Regions from separate parts of the Homo sapiens genome. Here region 2 is linked to region 1. The links are contacts of gene promoters, found by promoter capture Hi-C in human tissues and cell types (Jung and others, 2019). All regions are on one chromosome and are shown on one strand. Each heading gives the region's core, a stretch centred on a gene start or on the middle of the fragment in contact. The rest is flanking DNA. Distances are from core to core; before and after follow the strand shown.

What was found. Contacts are between HindIII fragments. The study calls those that stand out against the background at their distance.
Region 2: a contact is called between a fragment that was not itself captured here and the fragment with the promoter of RHEBL1 in region 1, in 1 of the 25 tissues and cell types used here (spleen).

What each region holds. Positions count from the first base shown.
Region 1 is chr12:49,068,264-49,071,507 of GRCh38, reverse strand. It overlaps RHEBL1 (RHEB like 1), which reads left to right and starts at 1,529. Exons shown (of 8, transcript NM_144593.3): 1 at 1,529-1,774; 2 at 2,402-2,473. The coding sequence starts at 1,723. RefSeq lists enhancers at 1,086-1,135, 1,506-1,815 and a silencer at 1,366-1,485. The HindIII fragment of the contact is 9,146 bases long and covers 1-3,244 here.
Region 2 is chr12:49,316,521-49,319,764 of GRCh38, reverse strand. The region is part of intron 2 of TROAP-AS1 (TROAP and PRPH antisense RNA 1); the gene reads left to right. Among named protein-coding and RNA genes, the nearest start is that of TROAP, 5.1 kb to the left of the region's middle. The HindIII fragment of the contact is 5,248 bases long and covers 1-3,244 here.

The DNA.
Region 1 (3,244 bases), core at 280-2,779:
ATCATGTCATGCCCCAGCTTAAATACCTTCAAGTACTTAGAATTAGCCCAGACTCCTTTATGTGGCCTGGCCTCTGCCATTCTCTTAGACTTCATCTGCTTTAGGCTAACTGGCTTTCTTTTTTTCTTCCCCTCTTCCTGGAATTTACCCAATTTATTTCCATCTTAACGCCTTAGCATTGGTGGATTCTTCTTGTGAAATCTCCTAGTTGGTTCCTTCAGATCTTAGTTTAAATGGGGTTTCCTATGAGAGAAAGTATCACTAAAGTGGTCATCTCAGCCAGGCTCGGTGGCTCACGTCTGTAATCCCAGCACTTTGGGAGGCCGGGTCAGGTGGATCACTTGAGGCTAGGCGTTCGAGACCAGCCTGGGCAACATAGCAAAACCCCATCTCTCCCCAAAATACAAAAATTAGCCAGTCTCATAACCCTGTCTCAAAATAAATAAAGAAAAAAAATTAAAAATGCTGTATTGTCTTTAAAAAATAAAGTGGTCGGCCGGGCGCGGTGGCTCACGCCTGTAATCCCATCACTTTGGGAGGCCGAGGCGGGCGGATCACGAGGTCAGGAGATGGAGGCCATGCTGGCTAACACGGTGAAACCCCGTCTCTACTAAAAATACAAAAAATTAGCCGGGCGCGGTGGCGGGCGCCTGTAGTCCCAGCTACTCTGGAGGCTGAGGCAGGAAAATGGCGTGAACCCGGGAGGCGGAGCTTGCAGTGAGCCGAGATAGAGCCACTGCCCTCCGGCCTGGTAGAAAGAGCGAGATTCCGTCTCAAAAAAAATAAAAATAAAAATAAAAAAATAAAAAAAATAAAGTGGTCATCTTTCATCACACCATCTTCTACAGCACTTAACACTCTCTGATATTTCCTTGTTGTATGTTTGTTTCTCCCTTCATAAGAGCAGACACATTGTCTGTGATGTCCATGTTCTGACCCCAAAGCTGGAGCAATGCCTGAAACATGTAGTATATACTCAGTATTTGTTGAAAAATGAATATTTGAGGATCATGATGATGAAGAAGAAACCTCAGACTACTTGATCATAAATTCTAGCAATTTCTGCAAGAATAAGAATTGCAGTTTGAAATTAGATGCTGGAAGACTGGAAACCTTGATAGGTCTGGGGCTGAAGGCTGGGGGAAGCAGAAGGAATATACTAGAACTTTGGCGGTTTTCTCCCTATCTAAGGACCCCAGAGACCATGCAAAAGGGAGGGCTAGAATCTTATGACCGGAAACCACAAAACGGGTATTTTCCATCCATAATTCTTCGAAGCCACTTCAGCTAGGCTGTAAATGCGCAAACGCCTTTAGGACCCCGGGTTCCTTTCTGTTTCTTTATGAATGAACCGGCTCCAGTCTGCGCACGCGCAGCTCCCAGTTCTCCCGCTCCACGTGAGGCCCACCCTTCCCTCCTGCTGGCGGCACCGCCCTTACCCATTCTAATGGACCAATGGCGAGCGGCCTGGGGGGCGGAGCCCGGCGCGGCGCGGCTCAGTAGTTCCCCGGGCGCCCGGCTCCCTGGCGTTAGACGTGCTGTGTTGTGATCACGTGGGCAGCTCCGGGCGCGGCGCTTGTTTTGGTTTCCTTCTAACTTGCCCACGGCAGCTTCGGGGTGAGCGACTTTCCTGCACCAGCTGCCGCGCCTGCTCACACCCTGACCTCGTTTTCGGGCTCTCTGAGCCCGCAGTTCCGCAAGCCCCTGGGGCGGGCTCCTGCCATGCCGCTAGTCCGCTACAGGAAGGTGGTCATCCTCGGATACCGCTGTGTAGGTGAGTCTCCGCCCTGCAGAGCTCGGACGCGCAGCAGCTTTGTAGCCAGAAGAGGCGCGCTGCCGTGGGAACGCGACCCAGGGAGGAATGATGACATCGTAAGGATGGGGTTGTAGAGCGAGGATTGGAAGAGTGGAGGAATGGAAGAGTGGAGGATTGGAAGAGTTGGTGGTGTGTGGAGGCTGCAGGAAGCGGGAGCACTTAAGGGTTAATGCGGACCTGGCTGCGGGAATCTCAGAGTGGTCCCAGCGTTACTTTGGGGATAGGGGTGGGGTCACAATTTGAAAACCGGGACGCGGTCTCCGTGGGGACAGATAGTCGCAGGTGTCCTGGGGCGGGGCGGACTTGATCCTAGGGAATCTTGGATCTTCCTACGAGTGGGATGGGGTGGGGAAGGCGGCGGGAAAGGCTTCCTGCTGCGCTTCTGAATGCATCCGGTAGCCAAAGTGCGGAGACCCTGGGTGAAAAGAGGGTGAGGGTAGACACAAAGGATAGCATTGCTTGAGGCACTCACAGACTGTGGTGTTAATTTGGGGTCTCCTTTGGTCCTGGGCCACAGTCCGAAAGGACAGAGGATGTGAATGTGGATGGATGATTTGGATACAACTGTCACACTGCTCCCCACAGGGAAGACATCTTTGGCACATCAATTTGTGGAAGGCGAGTTCTCGGAAGGCTACGATCCTACAGTGGAGAATAGTGAGTAGACTTCTCCCCTAGTGTGCTGGTGGTATGCGACCCGGAGGGCTTGGATACCCCACCCAACTCCATAATTTATTTCTCTGGTGCCAAGGGGCTGATTTATTTAGACATTACATCTGATTTCTTCTTTAGCAATCCTGTTCGATGGATGGCTAGAGTATGGATTTTGCAAGATATTGAGTCTGGGATAGTTTAGATGTAGACATTAAGAACCTTAGCGTGTCTTTCCAGTTACCTGGATAACTCCCTGGAGCTGATCTATCTGTGTCACCCCCAAGGTTAAGAATGTAAGGGGAGGCTGGGCGCAGTGGCTCATGCCTGTAATCCCAGCACTTTGGGAAGCTGAGGCGGGCGGATGGATTGAGGTCTGGATTTCGAGACCAACCTGGCCAACATGGTGAAACCTCATCTCTACTAAAAATACCAAAATTAGCTGGGCATGGTGGCGCACGCCTGTAATCCCAGCTACAAAGGAGACTGAGGTAGGAGAATCGCTTGAACCCAGGAGGCAAAAGTGGCAGTGAGCCAAGGTCGTGCCACTGCACACCAGCCTGGGTGTCAGGGTGAGACTGTCTCAAAAAAAAAAAAAAAAAAAAAAAAAAGCTGGGCACCGTGGCTTATGCCTGTAATCCCAGTTCTTTGGGAGGCCAAGGCAGGTGGATCACCTGAGGTCAAGAGTTCGAGACCAGCCTGGCCAACATGGTGAAACCCCGTCTCTACTAAAAATACAAAAAATTAGCCGGACATGGTGATGGACATCTGTAATCC
Region 2 (3,244 bases), core at 500-2,999, 250 kb before region 1:
GGCAGGCGGATCACTTGAGGTCAGGAGTCTAAGACCAGCCTGGCCAATATGGCAAAACCCGGTCTCTACTAAAAATATAATTAGCTGGGCGTGGTGATGCATGCCTGTAATCCCAGCTACTCAGGAGCCTGAGGCACGAGAATCACTTGAACCCAGAAGGGAGGGTTGCAGTGAGCAGAGATCATGCCACTGCACTCTAGGCTGGGAGAAAGAGTGAGTGAGACTTTGTCTCAAAAAAATATATATTTTTAATATACACTTTTTTGTATAGAGATGGGGTCTTGCTATGTTGCCTAGGCTGGTCTCAAACTCCTGGGCTCAAGCCATCCTCCTGCCTCAGCTTCCCACAGTGCTGAGATTACAGATGTCAGCCACTGTGCCAGCCTGCTTTTACTTTTTTTGATTAACTCTGTTTTCAGGATTCATCCTTATTACTACATATAATCTAATTCATTGCTTATACCTGCTACATAGGATTCCATGGTAGGCATCCATTATACTTTACTTACCCATTCCTGACTTCTACACACAATGCCAGACAGTTATCTCTTTCATAGTCCCCTGTGAACCAGTTCAAGAATTTCTCTGGAACATATTCCTCGGAGTGGAATTTCTGTGGTAAGGTATATGCATGCTCAATTTTACTAAGTAGCACCAGATTATTTTTCAGAAAATCTGTAGCTGTAAACCGGGCATGGCACACACTTGTAGTCCCAGCTTCTTAGAAGGCTGAGGTAGGAGGATTGCCTGAGCTCAGGAGTTTGAAGCCAGCTTTGATAACAGTGAGACACTCTAAAAAAAACCCTGAAAAACAAAACCAAGCAAGAAAACCCAGGTCTGTAGCTGTTTACAGTCTCAACATCATTACTGAAAGTTCTTATTACCTCATACCCTTTCCAACACGTAATATTATACAACTCTCTAATATTTGCAATTCTAATAGGTATATTAAGTGTACTCTCAGTTATTTAAAATTACATTTCTCTGATTACTAGTGAGTTTGAGTGTTACTTCATATTCTTTTTTTTTTTTCTTGAGATGGAGTCTCACTCTGTTACCAAGGCTGGAGTGCAGTGGCACGATCTTGGCTCACTGCAACGTCAGCCTCCCAAGTTCAAGCGATCCTCCTGCCTCAGCCCCCCTAGTAGCTGGGATTACAGGCACCCACAACCATCCCTGGCTAATTTTTGTATTTTTCATAGAGACAGGGTTTCGCCATGTTGGCCAGGCTGGTTTCCAACTCCTGACCTCAGGTGATCCACCCACCTTGGCCTCCCAAAGTGCTGGGATTACAGGTGTGAGCCACTGCGCCTGGCTATTTCATATTCTTGTTAGCCAATAAAGCTTCCTTCTCTCTGAAATGCCTATTCATATCCTTTGTGCTTTTTTTATTTTGGATTCCTGTCTTTACTTTTGTTCCTTCATAAGATTACACTATATTATGAATATTAATCCCACATTCACTTTTTTAAAAATTATTTTATTTTATTTTATTTATTATTACTTTTTGAGATGGAGTCTTGCTCTGTCACCCATACTGGAGTACAGGGGCCTGATGTCGGCTCACTGAAACCTCTACCTCCTGGGTTCAAGTGATTCTCCTGCATCAGCCTCCCAAGTAGCTGGGATTACAGACACGCACCACCACGCCTGGCTAATTTTCTTTTCTTCTTCTTCTTTTTTTTTTTTTGAGACTGAGTCTTGCTCTGTCACCAGGCTGGAGTGCAGTGGCGCAATCTCGGCTCACTGCAACCCCTGCCTCCTGGGTTCAAGGGATTCTCCTGCCTCAGCCTCCCGAGTAGCCGGGATTACACGTGCCTGCCACCATGCCCAGCTAATTTTTGTATTTGTAGTAGAGATGGGGTTTCACCATGTTGGCCAGGATGGTCTCGATCTCCTGACCTCGTGATCCGCCTGGCTCAGCCTCCCAAAGTGCTGGGATTAGAGGTGTGAGCCACCACGCCCGACCTCTTTTTTTTTTTTTTTTTTTTCAGGAAGAGTTTTGCTCTGTCTCCCAGGCTAGAGTTCAGTGGCCCGATCTCAGCTCACTGAAACCTCTGCCTCCTGGGTTCAGCGATTCTCCTGCCTCAGCCTCCCGAGTGGCTGAGATTACAGGTGCTCGCCACCATGCTTGGCTAATTTTTGTATTTTTAGTAGAGATGGGGTTTCACCATGTTGGCCAGGCTGGTCTCAAACTCCTGACCTCAGGTGACTGCCCACCTCAGTCTCCCAAAGTGCTGGGATTACAGGCATGAGCCATGGTGCCTGGCCACGCCTGGCTAATTTTTATATTTTTTAGTAGAGGGGGGTTTTGCCATGTTGACCAGGCTGGTTTAGAACTCCTGACCTCAGATGATCTGCCTGCTTCGGCCTCCTAAAGTGCTGGTATTACAGGAGTGAGCCACTGCACCCAGCCCCATATCCACTTTATTTATTTATTTATTATTATTATTTATTTATTTATTTATTTTTTGAGACAGAGTCGTGCTCTGTCGCCAGGCTGGAGTGCAGTGGCGCGATGTCGGTTCACTGCAGCTTCCACCTCCCGGGTTCAAGCAATTCTCCTGCCTCAGCCTTCCGAGTAGCTGGGACTACAGGTGTGCGCCACCATGCCCAGCTAATTTTTTGTATTTTAGTAGAGATGGGGTTTCACCATGTTGGTTAGGCTGGTCTTGAACTCCCAACCTCAGATGATCCGCCCGCCTTGGCCTCCCAAAGTGTTGGGATTACAGGCGTAAGCCACCGCGCCCAACCTATTATTATTATTATTATTGAGTCTTGGTCTGTCGCCCAGGCTGAAGTGCAGTGGCTCGATCTCGGCTCACTGTGAGTTCAAGTGATTCTCCTGCCTCAGCTTCCTAAGTCTCTGGGTCTACAGGTGTGCACCACCAGGCCCAGATAATTTTTGTATTTTTAGTAGAGACGGGGTTTCACCATGATGGCCAAGTGGTCTTGAACTTCTAACCTCAGGTGATGTGCCCACCTTAGCCTCCCAAAATGCTGGGATTACAGGCGTGAGCCACCACATCTGGCTCCCCATATCCACTTTAAACATTGCAAATATTTTCTTATAATTGATTTTCTATCCAATGAACTCTTTTCTTATTTTTCTATTGATTCTTCTAGGTTTTCTACAGAGATAATTATGTCCTCTGTAAACAAAACAGTTTTACATATTCCCCTTCAATCTTTATACCTCGTTAGATTTTTTGTTATTCTTGTTTTGTTTGTTTGTTTTTTTTTT